Linked DNA regions of Homo sapiens: all the other regions are linked to region 1. The links are contacts of gene promoters, found by promoter capture Hi-C in blood cells and fetal thymus (Javierre and others, 2016). All regions are on one chromosome and are shown on one strand. Each heading gives the region's core, a stretch centred on a gene start or on the middle of the fragment in contact. The rest is flanking DNA. Distances are from core to core; before and after follow the strand shown.

Region 1 (3,090 bases), core at 374-2,873:
TGTTGGGCAATAAAGCCTTTTGAGTGAGTGACATGATATCTACCCCGGAGAAGCCAATCATCTCACTGTTTTGGTGTAGGTGGGGCATAAGGATTAAACAAACAAAAAACTTCCACGTCATTTTTTAGCTATTCTTGGCCAAGAAGGTACCATTTCAGTCAAACTTTAAAGAATATTCTTAGAATAAGTGATAACATTTTCTTCGTATTTATGTGTGTGTTTTGTTTTTGTTTTAAATTTATCATCTAAGGCTACACTACAAAGATGTTTTCCAAAATTTAAAATAATGCTTGTATTTGCTTCCCAAACTATTTTCCTGCTCCAGATTTTAAAAAGAGGTGTGAGAATTTAATCAGCTCATAATAATAAACAGCTAGCAAGGAAATACTCTTCTAAGGAAATTCAGGACCCAAAATCTTTCTTAGGCAGTATTCAAGGAGCCCTCATTGTGAGTTTAAGTGGAAAGAAGTGTTTTTCAAGAGAAAGTGTTTGTTATTCCAAAGCGTATTCTGATAACTATTTCGGCAAAATTATGAAGCATCATTAAAATAGCCTTTTACATGAATTTTTTTTTTTTTTTTTGAGATGGAGTCTTGCTGTGTCGCCCAGGCTGGAGTGCAATGGCCCGATCTCGGTTCACTGCAAGCTCCGTCTCCCGGGTTCACACCATTCTCCTGCCTCAGCCTCCGGAATAGCTGGGACTATAAGCGCCCGCCACCACGCCTGGCTAATTTTTTGTATTTTTAGTACAGATGGGGTTTCACCGTGTTAGCCAGGATGGTCTCGATCTCCTGACCTCGTGATCCGCCCGCCTCTGCCTCCCAAAGTGCTGGGATTACAGGCGTGAGCCACCGCGCCCGGCCTTACATGATTTTTTATTACGTTATTAATGTGTTCTGTTTCTGTAAATGCACACAAAGTCAAATATGATAAAATAGTGCTGTTTCTGGAGAGTGTGAGAATATCCGTATAAAGGTGCTGTAAAAATGAATTGGGTATTTGAGATGTATACACGTCAGTTAATTCACTCTGAAGGCATGTACTCATTCTGGGACTTTGATATTGTAATCGTTCTACCTCTCCTATATTATGCTACGCATCACAGTCATTAGATCACTCCGTGATGTAGAGTTAATTTCAGCATATCTAAATATTATCAGTTATGAATGATAATTCTAGGCGTGTAGTTGAGAGTTACAGCATACACCGTTAATGGTTATTAATTTGGTGCCTATTTTGCCAACTTAGAACACTCACTTAGAACTCAACTTCGAACAAAGCTTTTCACAAATATCTATATCCCCCGTTACTCTTATCATAGCTCTATTGTTGGTGAAGATTAGCCGAACTGAACATGCCATCTCTATTGCTGTTATTTTCACGGGTTTGGGTGTCAATTATGGGTTCCCTAGAATTTGCCCGTAATTGACTATGTCCCACTATAGGTAACTCTGGAAGGGACTGGCAGCTTCCAGTGTGGTTCTCCCGCCTGTCGATTGGACCTTGCAGGAAGCCCCGCCTCATCAACTCAGTCAAGGGCTTTAGTTGGCCCGGCGTCGGTGAGTGGCGGGTCTTAGCTCCGCCCTGGCCGTCCGCTGCGCTGCCTGGGTCGGCGCCGTTTCCAGTTGAGAGATGGCGGCCGCCGCAGGTAGATCGCTCCTGCTGCTCCTCTCCTCTCGGGGCGGCGGCGGCGGGGGCGCCGGCGGCTGCGGGGCGCTGACTGCCGGCTGCTTCCCTGGGCTGGGCGTCAGCCGCCACCGGCAGCAGCAGCACCACCGGACGGTGAGCGAGCGCGCCCGGAGGCTCCGGGGAGGGCGGGGCGGCGCTGGCGTGTGGGAGCCGCCGGCGGGCAGGCCGCCGGGGCAGCAGGCGAGTTACCTCAACTCCCGGCCGCTCCGGAGGTTGCCGGGCACCGAGGAGCCGCCGTGCCCTTCAGGCGCCTGCGGCGGCGACCAGGAAGGGAGGGCGGGCGGGAGGAAGCCGAGAGGAGGAGGAGGGGCGACGGCGGGGATGTTCCCGCAGGACTGGGGACACCAGGGCGGGGAAGGCACGGGACTTGAACCTCTCCCCGACTCGCCCCCAATCGCGTTCCCTCCCTTCTTCGTTCTTAACAGCCCTGCCCCAAGGCTCCCTGAACGGAGCCAGATGGAAGTTGTCCCCTTTCCCTCCTCCTCCGGGCGGGTTGGGGAGTTCTGAGTTGCCGCGGCCGCCTTGTGTGTGCCAGGAGAGTGGCAGTGCCATGCTGCTGGGAGCTGCCCCGGAGAGCAGCCCAGGACCCCGGCGGGGCCGCCCCTCGTCCTCTCTCGTCCCCGAGGGGTCGGGCAGGAAGGAAAATCAAACTTTATTCCCCTCTGTGACTTCCTCTGTGTGTGTGCATGGGGAACCGGCTCCCTCGAGATGGATGCTGCATTGCTTCAGGAGGCAAGCTTCATCCTCTTGGGTCCTTAAAGGTGCTTTTGGGGGTCCTTTCGAGGGCTACTGTATAAGCGTGTTCACGCGTGCCTGAAGCGGGAAGGGTGGTCAGCAGGCACAGGAGAAGCGAATATGGTAAGTTGTTGACAGAGGCAGAGATTTGGTGGTTGTATTAACCAGTTGTTGCTGGGTTTCATTGGCTGGCAGAAAAAGAGGATTTCTGTTTGAACACTCTTGGGTGAGTGTGTGTGTGTGTGTGTGTGTGTGTGAGAGAGAGAGAGACAGAGTGTGAGAGAGATTTCTTTTTTCAATTGCAAGAGATGAATTTGGCATGGAGTTCTTAACCTAACAAGTCAGGAGGTTTCCTTCCCTTGGACTTTCTAGACCTATATGTGTTGGTCTCTGGCCAGCTCTGAGGGAAAGAATGTAGGTTTTATTTGCTGGGGCTGAGTTGTATAGTGTGATTATTGGAGGATCACTGCAAACAGCTTGATAGGAGAAACTACAATAGTACCTTCAACCCTCAATAAACACATCGCCTGCCTTGTTCTGATCATAACTCTTAAGAGGAAACTGAACTGGAGCTCTTCGGAGAGGATACTCCTAAGGCCAATGACAGCATCAAAATCGAGTGCCTGAAAGATCTATGAAAAGACCTAATGCTCTGCAAAAGCAAGG
Region 2 (3,090 bases), core at 351-2,850, 480 kb before region 1:
AGGCCAAGGTGGGAGGATTGGTTGAGGCTGGAGTTCAAGATCAGCCTTATGAACATAGTGAGACCTCGTCTCTAAAAAAAGAAAAAGAGGGCCAGGTGTGGTGGCTCACACCTGTAATCCCAGCACTTTGGGAGGCCGAGGCAGGCAGATCACAAGGTCAGGAGTTCAAGACCAGCCTGACCAACATAGTGAAACCCCATCTCTACTAAAAATACAAAAATTAGCTAGGCATGGTGGCACGTGCCTGTAATCCCAGCTACTCGGGAGGCTGAGGCAGGAGAATCTCTTGAACCCAGGAGGCGGAAGTTGCAGTGAGCTAAGATCGCGCCACTGCACTCCAGCCTGGGCAACAGAGCACAACTCCGTCTTAAAAAAAGAAAAAGAAAAAGAGAAAGAGAAAAGGGCCAGGCATGGTGGCTTACACCTGTACTCCCAGCACTTTGGGAGGTTGAGGAAGGAGGACTGCTTGAGCCCAAGAGTTTGAAACCAGCCTGGGCAACATGGCGAAACCCTGTCTCTCAAAAAACAACAACAACAACAAAAAAAAGAGAGATTAAAAATAAAAGGCATTATAAATGCCCGTATATAAACACAGCCTGTCCATGGCTTTGAAAGAGAGAATAAAGGTCTCTTTATTACTTTAACCTAATGAGTAAAATGCAAACTTCAGTGGTTATCTAACCATTTGCACAATATCTCTTTTTTTTTTTTTTTTTTTTTTTTTGAGACGGTGTATTGCTCTTGTTGCCCAGGCTGGAGTGCAATGACACAATCTCAGCTCACTGCAACCTCTGCCTCCCGGGTTTAAGCGATTCTCCTGCCTCAGCCTTCCCAGTTGCTGGAATTACAGGCCCCTGCCACCACCCCCGGCTAATTTTTTGTATTTTTAGTAGAGATGGGGTTTCGTCATGTTGGCCAGGCTGGTCTGGAACTCCTGGCCTCAGGTGATCCACCCGCCTCAGTCTCCCAAAGTGCTGGGATTACAGGCGTGAGCCACTGCGCCCAGCAAACTCTTTCTATCTAGCAAGATAATTAAGACAATGAGGGATATTTAATACACTTAACCATCCAGAAAAAAAAAAGCCCCTAAGTACTTTTAGAGGTGCTAGAAATTCATACCAAACAATCAGTTCCAGTTGTCTGTTAAAGCACAGTTAAAATAACAACTTAACCAATATGGTTCTCAGACCAACATACTGCTGAAGGGGGGAATCCAATTTCCACAGGCCACTGCCCAACAAAATGCACATCGCTCACTGCGAAGCCAAGCTTCTGGTCACATCACTTAATGAATCAATAATTTAGGAAACAAAGGTTCCTTACAGGCTAGCTGAGGTTAAATTCAACCAATATTCCTACCACGTACAGCTTAGATAGTCTTGAAGCCCAAAATACTTAAAAGTTCCAAAGAAAACAAGTTGATCCTTACTAAATACACTAATGTTCAAGCCAACGTGGGCGCGGTGGCTCACGTCTGTAATCCCAGCACTTTAGGAGGCCGAGGCGGATCATCTGAGGCCAGGAGTTCGAGACCAGCCAGGCCAACATGATGAAACCCCGTCTCTACTGAAAATACAGAAAGTAGCCGGGTGTGGTGGCGGGCGCCTGTAGTCCCAACTACTGGGAAAGCTGAGGCACGAGAATGGCTTAAGCCTGAGAGGCGGAGGTTGCAGTGAGCTGAGATCGCGCCACTGCACTCCAGCCTGGGCGACAGAGCGAGACTTCGTCTCAAAAAAATAAATAAAATAATAATTGATGAGTTGTGCGCTTACAGAACCAAGAAGAGGTTTCGTGAGAAATAACAACACAGAAGGTAAACCGACATGGATGGAGGAAAAGGGCACATCATTAGCAATACTCGATGACATCACAACCCAGTGGCCTATTCCCCGAGGCCTCTAAAGTTCTCAACGAAAAAAGACTTTCAAAGGAAAAGCTTAAAAAAAAAATGTTCCCCACAAAAACAGACTAAGATGAAAGTCGGGCCCTCAGACCACGAGCTCCGGAAGAACAGGCAGTTGTCGCGGAGACAGCAAATGCAGCATCTACCTGTCCTACATGGCCCTGCGCTACGAGACTGCTCGGAAGGAAAGAGAGGAATAACCAACTTAACCCTGCTTCGAGGTGGTTTGGAGAGGAAGAGGAAAGCTGTGTCTTTCTGCAATATCGTGAGGGAAGCCGAGGCCCTGAATCATCAAAGAGAAGGAGAAGAGGACTAGGCGGCTGCAGGTAAACCAAGGTAGGGCGAGGAGGAGGACCCGGAATTCCTCTACGCGAGCGCGTTCTCTGCTCCCCTCCTCGCGTCTCCGCCCCGGCCACGCCCACCACGGCACGGGCGCGCGCACGCCGCCTTCGCCGCTGGCTCCGTCTGTTGGGGGGCGAACACGCCGCGGTCCTCGTCGTGGTGAGCGCAGCCACTCAGGCTGGTCCTGGGGGTGGGGCTGTAGGGGAAAGTGCTAAAGCCGCTGAGGTAAGAGGCCGAGGGGTCGAGGGCCCTCGGGAGCTTGGTGAAAAGGGAGTTAACCCCCAGGATCCTACCTGCAGGGACTAGAAAAATGGAGAAGGTAGGAGGAGAAACAGGAGACTGCTGCAGCAGACGTGCGATAGGAAATTTCCCCAGGCCGGGTTTGACCGAGTGCGCATGCGGGCCGAGGGCTGGCGCCTGCGCAGTGGGACAGCGCCGATGGCGTAGTTTCCTGGGGACCCAGCTGGGTGGGAAAAGTGGCTAGGAGTTAGCTTGGGAGCCGCTGGTGTTCTGAGCGCTCCCCTCTCTGGCCACTTTTTCTCCACGCCCACCCCCGCCCCGTTCCCGCCCCCCCCCCCCCCCGTTACAGCTGCGGCATCTATTTGGTTTGGGTTGTAATCCAGCTGTTTTGAAGTGGAACGATTTGTTGATGATGGAATTTAATGATTACTTGTAATAATTTGCCTTTGTACTAGGGTAGGAACTTTTAAGGAATTACTCTTTTTAAGAAAATAGGCATATATCTGTTAGAAAGGAAAGGAATTTATATTCATAAATATATGAATGCGAGGTCATCCCTGCCGTACATGAAGTAAATGTTTAAGCATCTTAGCTCGGACACAGCA
Region 3 (3,090 bases), core at 585-3,084, 400 kb after region 1:
AAATAAATTTTCTTGAATAGAAACACAAAGCTTTGGCCGGGCACGGTGGCGTGATCACACCTGTAATCCCAGCACTTTGGGAGGCCAAGGCGGGCAGATCACGAGGTAAAGAGATCGAGACCATCCTGGTTAACACGGTGTAACCCCGTCTCTACTAAAAATACAAAAAATTAGCTGGGCGTGATGGTGGGCGGCTGTAGTCCCAGCTACTCGGGAGGCTTAGGCAGGAGAATGGCGTGAACCCGGGAGGTGGAGCTTGCAGTGGGCCGAGATTGCACCACTGCACTCCAGCCTGGGTGGCAGAGTGAAACTCCATCTCAAAAAAAAAAAAAAAAAAAAAAAAAAAAAAAATATATATATATATATATATATATATATATATATACACACACACACACACACACATACTCATTTTATTTGGATTTTTTATATATATTCATATATTTATACACACACAACACATTATGGTTTAATTACAAGATTCAAGATCTCACTGCAAGAAAAGCAATAAAGTTTAATGCCAAGAGCCTATGCAATTTATTTTTGTTTACTTCCAAGCCTGTTCCACTTTCAGAATGGAAAACCAAAGTTAAGTTACCATATATAGGAGAGGGCATGCAATGTGATATACTTTCACAGACTAGACAATTTAGCATTTCAACAATTCTAACAACCTATTAACTTTTGTTAAAACCCTTTTGGCAAAAATGTATTAGGGTCACCCACATATACAAGTCCAGTCAGACTTACATGCCCAGCTCGATTTTCAGAAACATTCAATACTGCCTCAAGACACCTAGATACCCTTAGAGAGTAACTTCACATCTCTTACTTTTTAGGGGTTCTTATAATAAAGTTCATGAATGGACTTGAGTGGGGGGGCAGGAAGTGACATACAAAATTCCATGTAGGGTGTATTTGCATTTTCTGACATAGGACCACACCTTTCATCAGATTCTCAAAGGATTTCATGACCTTAAAATAGTTTGAGAACCACTATTATGTATCTCACAGGTCAATTCAAGAGCAATAATTATATCCTAGTTGATAACTGGTTGCTAAGTAAAATAAAGCATTCCTTCCACAGAAAGGAAGGCTCACAAGCTTTATGGCTGTCCCAGCTCTTGCTGCATCTCTGGAATAAATGCCGTTTGAACTTAATTGCCCTACTGAAAAACACTGCTTTTCAGTATACAACTTATTCTGCACTAATAGAAAAGGTTAACAGCTCCTTGCCAAAAAGCCAAGATTCATCTGCAACAACCCAGACTACAAGGCAATATAAAACTTTTTTTCAATAGTCTTTTGCACTAATTTTTTTGGCATAATTAAAAGTTGTACACATTTTTCAACTGTTTTACCATCTAAGTTACCAAAACACAAAATGGCCAATGTAATTATCCGCCTACCAAAGTCCTGATTTTCAGTACTTCAAAATAAAACTCATTTCAAAATGTCAATAAAAACAGCACTACCCATTTAAAAGAGACAGAAATAGTCCTTTTCCTAGTTAGTCTATGTAAATCTAAGAAACATTTGTCATCAGCTATCAAAAACAATGGCAGGACTTAAGGCACAATGTCCCAAAACCAAAACTGACTATGAATTTTATTAAAGGTAAGTGATAAAGTCTCTTTTCCCACATAAAGAAAAAAGTAAAATTTGAAGTTCACATTTCAGATTCTTAAATTACGCTCACAAGCTAAAAAAAAAAAAAAAAAAAAAAAAAAATCACGGGGTGTGTATTCACATTTCACATGAAGACAAAATATAGTTGAGGTTGTTCACTTTCAGCTTCTTGAATATATCGTCTTAGGATACCGATTTTCTCCATAGAAACTTGATTCTAAAAATCCCTTTAAAATGTTTTTTAAATTAACTTCCAACGTTCCTGCTATGCAGACTGAATTCTTCATCTGATTATTTTAGGAAAAGACTAGCCTCATTCATAAGCTACGTCTAAACCTAAAAGGGGAAATACGTTTCTAACCAGAACTTTAAAAAAAAAAAAAAAAAAGAGTAAAAAATTGATGAAAGAACGCTGCTGCCACGTCTTTGCCCCTCCCCCCTTCACGTAGTGGCTATTTCATCCCCTCCGAGTGCATTCCAAGCGAAAGTCCGAGAACCACTGCTCTCGGAGAAACCAGAAACAGTTAAGTGGAAATTGGCAAGTCTCTTTGGCCTTTTAGATCAATTCCTAAAAGAGGATCTAGCTGCTTCTTCAACCCTTTCTTAAAGAAAACAGTGCAAAATTCCAAGAGTCTTCACTCTATCCGGAACGCGTAAGATGTTAGTGTCTAAACATTGAATTTGTATGTAACAGAGTCGATTATTTAGGAGAAAGAGTCTCACAGTTATCATACCATCCTTCCTCCCCATTGAAACATACATCCGGGGGCCAGCCATGTAATCCAACTCAAAATCCTCACACAACCATGGAATTTGTTGGACTGATGTGGACTTTTAAAAGCTGCAAATTCTCGGCAGAGAGAGACAGAGAGACAGAGATTGAGAGAAGAGCTCTTGTCTCTTTTTAAAAAAAGTTATGGGGAAGAAGAGGGAAGGAAGCTTCCCTGACGACGAGGTGACCTGAGAGCCTACTTCCTCGGCGCTACGAGCAGAAAGCTCGGCGCCCCGGGCTACGTCTGGCAGCTAATGCTGCACCGCTGCGCGCAACAGATGAGTTCAGCCGGAACTTTCTGGGGAGGTCCCCCCAGCTCCCGGCGACTTTCGATAGGGCAAAAATGCCTGGCGCGCTGCGGATCCAGCTCCAAGCCTTAAAATCCGCTCTCCACCGCCACATGCGAACCATCTGCGGCTGTGGCGGCCAAAAGCCCACGCCCCGCGCTTGCGTTCCCCTTAGCCTCGTTAGGGAGGACCAGGTGCAGGGGAACTTGGAAAAAAAAAAAAGCAACAGAGTGATTCCTCCCCGGGAAGGAAAATTCAAGAAAGTCCTGGTCCCTAGGGCGGGGACTGAGGCTGCAGCAGCCCCAGCGGTCCGAGGCGCACTAGGGACAGAGGTGGGAAGGGGGGCACGAAGGAGCGCGGGCGCCGGGAGTCGCGTGGCGCAGGGAGAGGGGCCGAGTCTCC
Region 4 (3,090 bases), core at 295-2,794, 350 kb before region 1:
CTACTAGGGAGGCAGAGGTTGCAGTGAGCCAAGATGGTGCCACTGCAGTCCAGCCTGGGTGACAGAGTGAGACCCTGTCTCAAAAAAAAAAAAAAAAAAAAAATCCGGGCACAGTGGCTCACGCCTGTAATCCCAGCACTTTGGGAGGCTGAGGCGGGCGGATCACCTGAGATCAGGAGTTTGTGACCAGCCCGGCCAACATGGTGAAACTCCATCTCTACTAAAAATACAAAAAAAAAAACCCCAAAAGACATTTAGCTGGAGATAGTGGTGGGCGCCTGTAATCCCAGCTACTCGAGAGACTTGAGAGGCTGAGGCATGAGAATTGCTTGAACCCAGGAGGTGGAGATTAGCAAGATTGTGCCACTGCACTCCAGCCTGGGCGACAGAGCAAGGATCTGTCTCAAAAAAAAAAAAAAAAAAAAAGTAGGCAGGATAGAGGTCTTTTTCGTTTTACATGAACAAAATTAATTTTGTTAATAAAAATTGACATAAAATTCTACATAATTCATGGATAAATCTGTAGTAATTGCTTTATTTTTCAGATAGTATACTTATACATATATCTCTTTTCTTAATAAATTTAGGCAGAATTCTGATATTCTGATAGTCTTCCAAAAGCACACTTGGTTTTATTAATAAACCCTATAGTACTTTATTTAGAGTTATTTTTTTTTATTTGTTTGTTTATTTGAGATAGAGTCTCACTCTGTTGCCCAGGCTGGAGTGCAGTGGTGCGATCTCAGCTCACTACAACCTCTACCTCCCAGGTTCAAGTGATTCTCATGCCTCAGCCTCCTGAGTAGCTGGTACTACAGGCACGTGCCACCACGCCTGGCTAATTTTTTTTTTTTTGACACGGAGTCTTGCTCTGTTGCCCAGGCTGGAGTGCAGTGGCATGATCTTAGCTCACTGCAACCTCCGCCTCCTGGGTTCAAGCAATTCTCCCGCCTCAGCCTCCCTAGTAGCTGGGATTACAGGCGCCCAGCACCATGCCCAGCTAATTTTTGTATTTTAGTAGAGATGGGATATCAACACGTTGGCCAGACTGGTCTTGAACTCCTGACCTCAAGCAATCCACCCATCTCGGCCTCCCGAAGTGCTGGGATTACAGGTGTGAGCCACCGTGCCCGGCCTAATTTTTGTATTTTTAGTAGAGATGGGGTTTCACCATGTTGGCCAGGCTGGTCTCGAACTCCTGACCTCAAGTGATCTGCCCACCTCGGGTTCCCAAAGTGCTGGGATTACAGGCATGAGCCACCGTGCCTTGCTAGAGTTCATTTAATACTACTTTAATTGCTATTTCTTTCAGTGTATTTGGTTTTACTCTGCTTTTTGCTTTTATGAATCCAACTTATGAATCCATTTTTTTCTACTGAACTCATTCAAATCTGCAAATATGTTTGCATTGCACCACATTTTGAATAAGTAAAATATTCAGTCCACTGCACTACTCCCTATTTTTACCATTGGTTTTTTTTTTTTTTCTTTTTTGAGACGGAGTCTCACTCTGTTGCCCAGGCTGGAGTGCAATGGCATGATCTCAGCTCACTGCAACCTCTGCCTCCCGGTTTCAAGCGATTCTCCCGCCTCAGCCTCCTAAGTAGCTGGAATTACAGGTGCACACCACCACGCCGGCTAATTGTATTTTTAATAGAGATGAGGTTTCACCATGTTGGCCAGGCTGGTTTCGAACTCCTGACCTCAAGTGATCCGCCTGCCTTGGCCTCCCAAAGTGCTGGGATTACAGGCATGAGCCACTGTGCCCAGTCAACCCTTCAGATTTTTAAGATCTCAAAGTAGTGAGTTTAACAGACTTGGCATGTTGAGTGCCAAGCTGGGAAAAGTACCCTGCAAAGGGGACCCCGCTTAGCAGGACCCTCTGTTTCAGGTGGGATCAGTCAGGAAGCCTTCCTGGAGGCCTTTGCTTAGCTGTAAAGAGGAATGGGGGAAATGAGTTTGCCCAAGGGGGACACAGATGGTAGGAGACCAAAAGAAGTATCTGCTGTGCTCACAACTTGCTATTTTTCACATTTTTCTAATGCAAGTGGTTGGCCATGCCAAATGTCCTCTTCAATGTCTGGAGTCTATACAGGACATTAACTATCACCCTCGGCAGCATCATGGCTATTGAAAACCAAGCCCGGCTGGGCGCTGTGGCTCACGCCTGTAATCCCAACACTTTGGGAGGCCGAGGCGGGCGAATCACAAGGTCAGGAGTTCAAGACCAGCCTGGCCAACATGGTGAAACCCCGTCTCTACTAAAATACAAAAATTAGCCGAACATGGTGGTGGGCGCTTGTAATCCCAGCTACTAGGGAGGCTGAGGCAGCAGGATGGCTTGAATCTGGGAGGCGGAGGTTGCAATGAGCCGAAATCATGCCATTGCACTCCAGCCTGGGCAATAGAATGAGACTCTGTCTCAGAAAAACAAAAACAAAAACAACCAAGCCCACCAGGCATGGTGGCTCACACCTGTAATCCCAGCACTCTGGGAGGCTGAGGCGGGCAGATCGCCTGAGGTCAGGAGTTTGAGACCAGCCTGGCCAGCATGGTGAAACCCCGTCTCTACTAAAAATACAAAAATTAGCCGGCGTGGTGGCAGGCGCCTGTAATCCCAGCTACTCGGGAGGCTGAGGCACAGAATCGCTTGAACCCGGGAGGCAGAGGTTGCAGTGAACTGAGATTGTGCCACTGCACTCCAGCCTGGGCAACAGAGCAAGACTCCATCTCAAAAAAACAAAAGCAAGCAAAAACAAGCCTGTGGTTCCTGCAGATTAAATGAGGAAGGGCCCAAGTCTCTGGCAGCAGGTCCCTGTGTCCATTTATTCCAGGCACGAAACCTCAGTCAGGCCTGGGCCCCAGCGCCCTGGGTAGTAAAATCCTAAAGCCTCTGACAAGCTGACCAGCTGGGAAAACAGGCATCTGGATCACTGCAGGGACCCAGCATCCCTCTGTGCTAAGGAAGGACAGCAGCACATCCCAGCACATTCCTTCAAACACGCCAGGTGCCTGCTGGCCTGAAGACGCCATGCTGGGTGCCACACCCACCAGTGCGACCCACTGAGGTCTGACCCAACAGGCTGAGAG
Region 5 (3,090 bases), core at 350-2,849, 320 kb before region 1:
GATTCTTATGCTGGGACCAAAAGGGAAGCTCCATAGGCTGGAGCTTTTGAGCAGGCTCTTGAATTCCATTAGCCCAGCTTTCTGGAGGATGATGAACAACAAATACTGGCTGTGGGGTAAGAGAGGGTGGTAATATAGTAAATAAAACAGAGGGGGCAGTACAGTTTTAGTTCAAATCCTGGTTTTGCCATCTACTATTATCTTTTTTTTTTTTTTTTTTTTTTTTTTGAGATAGAGTCTCGCTCTGTCGCCCAGGCTGGAGTGTTGTGGCACGATCTCTGCTCCCTGCTGCCTCCCGGGTTCAAGTGATTCTCTTGCCTCAGCCTCTCGAGTAGCTGGGATTTCAGGCACGCACCACTGTGCCTGGCTAATTTTTGTATTTTTAATAGAGACGGGGTTTCACCATGTTGGCCAGGCTGGTCTTGAGCTCCTGACCTCAGGTGATCCGCCTGCCTCAGCCTCCCAAATACTATTATCTTTGTGACCTTAGGAAATCTACTTAACCTCTCTGAGTCTCAGCTTTCTCATCAGTAAAAAGTGGTCAATAACAATACCTAGGTCAGAAGATTAAATGAGCAGATTAACTTTCTGGCTCATAGTAAGCATTGAAAAAGTGTAAGCATCCGTTGTTATTGTTGTTATTAGTATATCAGCTACCATACCTAAAAAATAATGCCAAGGTCAAACCAGAACCAGATCTCTTGAATGGGCTAAATGACAGAGCAGAGTGGCCACAGACACAACAGACCACTGTGTGGAGCTGGAATGCTATGGAGATGGAATGCAACTGGCTGGAATGTGCCCTGGGTGGTGGAGAGATCAGTACTGCCTTCTTTCTAAAGACACTCAGATACCTGAGTGCTCCGTATCCGCTAAGTAGCAAGTTGAGTCTGACATTTTTGTTTCCATTTTTAAGATGCTTATGGTCATAAATTAATTTAGGCCTATAGGCATATTGGAATTATAAGAAGAAGAAATGGAAAACAGAAGCCAGGGCCAGGGGTTCGATTTCTCAGTATCATCATGCCAAGGGCTGAGGTGCTAATGTGAGAAAGGTGGGTAGCTTGAAGAGGATGGGCTGGTACACAGATGCTGTCCGCAAGGCTCCATTATACACAAGGGCCTCTAAGGGCAGCTAGGCTGTTTCCCCTCCGGGCTCCAGAGGGCCCCACTCACCATCACAGTCAAAGAGTGCAAACACCACATCACACACGTGGTCTGAGAGCTCCACTTTAGCCACTGTCCTGGCCACCTGCTGCATGGTCACTGAAAAAAGAAAGAGGTGCATTAGCACAGCAGAGGGATTTTCATTTTGCTTTCTCTGATTCAGGGGATAAAACGACTCAGTCATAATACAAGTTTTCAACTGCATTTAAGTCACATTTAAGAAAATGATAAGTTAGGCTGGCCACAGTGGCTCATGCCTGTAATTCCAGCACTTTGGGAGGCCGAGGAGGGTGGATCACCTGAGGCCAGAACTTCAAGACCAGCCTGGCCAAGATGGTGAAACCCTGTCTCTACTAAAAATACAAAAAATTAGCCGGTGCCTGTAATCCCAGCTACTTGGGAGGCTGAGGCAGAGAATTGCTTGAACCCGAGAGGCGGAGGTTGCAGTGAGCTGAGATCACGCCACTGCTCTCCAGCCTGGGAGAGTGAGACTCCGTTTCAAAAAAAAAAAGAAAAAATGATAATTGAGTTTTTATTCATAAGCTCCCTCCTTTTCACCTCAAGTTCTGTTCTTTTCTACTGCTGCTACAGTTTAGGAGGTATATATAGTTAATTAAGAATGCCTAGGCTGGCCAGGCGCGGTGGCTCATACCTGTAATCCCAGCACTTTGGGATTCCGAGGCAACATGGCGAAACCCTGTCTCTACAAAAAATACAAAAAATTAGCCCGGCATGGTGGTGTGCACCAGCTACTTGGGAGGCTGAGGTGAGAGGATAGCTTGAGCCCAGGAGGCAGAGGTTTCAATGAGCTGAGATGGCGCCACTGTACTGGAGTAACACTCTATGTAACAGAGTGAGACACTGTCTCAAAAAATAAAAAGTGCCTGATATTCAATTTATAGACAGAAAGTAGATTAGAGGTTATTGTGGGCTGAGGGGAATGGGGAGTTACTGCTTTATGTATACAGAATTTCTGTCTGGGGTGATGGAAAAATTTTGAAAATAGTGATGATGGTTGTACAACATTGTGAATGTAATTAATGTAATTCCACTGACTTGTATATTTAAAAATGGTTATAATGGCACATTTTATGCCATATATATTTTTATATTTATATATATATTTATAGAAATATATAAATGGGTGGTGGGAACAAGGAGGCTTGTCTGTGGTGTGAGTACACTAAGGCTTCACGCCTTGGTGGGTGAATGACAGCTAAGTGCCTGCACAGTGAGCCCTCCCTGCCCAACTCTGTCCCTCCTCCCTACTGGTTTTGCACCAGACTTCTTCCAACTGAGCCCATTGGTATATGCACTGGCCCTTGTCTTAACAGTTCAGGATGCGTATCTTTCTTTTTTTTTTTGAGACAGAGTCTTACTCTGTCCGCCAGACTGGAGTGCAGTGGCACGATCTCGGCTCACTGCAACCACTGCCTTCCGGGTTCAAACAATTCTCCTGCTTCAGCCTCCCAAGTAGCTGGGACTACTGGTGCCTGCCATCACGCCTGGCTAATTTTTATATTTTTAGTAGAGATGGGGTTTCACCATGTTGGCCAGGGTGGTCTTGAACTCCTGACCTCAGGTGATCTGCCCACCTCGGCCTCTCAAAGTGCTGGGATTACAGGGGTGAGCCACCACACTCAGCGGGCCCGGCCAATAGTTCAGGATGCATATCTTTCTTTTAAAAAATATATATTTTTAGACCTCAGCAAAAAATCACTTTTCTCTTGCCGTTTTCTCTTTCCCAGACATTCACCGTCAAACACTAGCAATTATGTTAGAATTGGGTTCTCATGAAAGACAAGACAGGAAGGACGAGGCAATTTCCACTGCCTTCTCTCTCATTTATCCTCAAACCTGGTCTAGCTACACCTATAAATCATGTTATTGCTTCTGGACACATTCTTAAGTGAGGTAAAATAT

The links. The method cuts DNA at HindIII sites, captures the fragments that hold promoters and counts their contacts. A CHiCAGO score of 5 or more calls a contact.
Region 2: a fragment that was not itself captured here is called in contact with the fragment with the promoter of MCU in region 1 in 1 of 17 cell types (naive CD4 T cells); the score reaches 5.2 in naive CD4 T cells.
Region 3: a fragment that was not itself captured here is called in contact with the fragment with the promoter of MCU in region 1 in 1 of 17 cell types (fetal thymus); the score reaches 6.3 in fetal thymus.
Region 4: a fragment that was not itself captured here is called in contact with the fragment with the promoter of MCU in region 1 in 1 of 17 cell types (neutrophils); the score reaches 5.6 in neutrophils.
Region 5: a contact is called between a fragment that was not itself captured here and the fragment with the promoter of MCU in region 1, in 5 of 17 cell types (megakaryocytes, M0 macrophages, M2 macrophages and 2 more). The highest score is 13.1, in megakaryocytes.

The regions. Positions count from the first base shown.
Region 1 is chr10:72,690,520-72,693,609 of GRCh38, forward strand. It overlaps MCU (mitochondrial calcium uniporter), which reads left to right and starts at 1,624. Exons shown (of 8, transcript NM_138357.3): 1 at 1,624-1,782. The coding sequence starts at 1,633. RefSeq lists enhancers at 1,242-1,301, 2,972-3,061 and silencers at 1,502-1,961, 2,052-2,101, 2,122-2,211. The HindIII fragment of the contact is 1,146 bases long and covers 1,279-2,424 here.
Region 2 is chr10:72,213,669-72,216,758 of GRCh38, forward strand. It overlaps ASCC1 (activating signal cointegrator 1 complex subunit 1), which reads right to left and starts at 2,608. Exons shown (of 10, transcript NM_001198800.3): 1 at 2,539-2,608. It overlaps ANAPC16 (anaphase promoting complex subunit 16), which reads left to right and starts at 2,344. Exons shown (of 4, transcript NM_173473.4): 1 at 2,344-2,470. RefSeq lists enhancers at 1-346, 347-846, 2,006-2,125, 2,029-3,024 and a silencer at 2,246-2,435. The HindIII fragment of the contact is 667 bases long and covers 1,268-1,934 here.
Region 3 is chr10:73,093,524-73,096,613 of GRCh38, forward strand. The region is part of intron 1 of P4HA1 (prolyl 4-hydroxylase subunit alpha 1); the gene reads right to left. Among named protein-coding and RNA genes, the nearest start is that of P4HA1, 1.8 kb to the right of the region's middle. RefSeq lists an enhancer at 2,724-3,090. The HindIII fragment of the contact is 1,464 bases long and covers 1,103-2,566 here.
Region 4 is chr10:72,345,489-72,348,578 of GRCh38, forward strand. All of the region lies in intron 1 of DNAJB12 (DnaJ heat shock protein family (Hsp40) member B12), which reads right to left. Among named protein-coding and RNA genes, the nearest start is that of DNAJB12, 7.9 kb to the right of the region's middle. The HindIII fragment of the contact is 5,386 bases long and covers 1-3,090 here.
Region 5 is chr10:72,374,607-72,377,696 of GRCh38, forward strand. MICU1 (mitochondrial calcium uptake 1) reads right to left here. Exons shown (of 12, transcript NM_001195518.2): 11 at 1,177-1,266. Among named protein-coding and RNA genes, the nearest start is that of DNAJB12, 21 kb to the left of the region's middle. The HindIII fragment of the contact is 6,523 bases long and covers 1-3,090 here.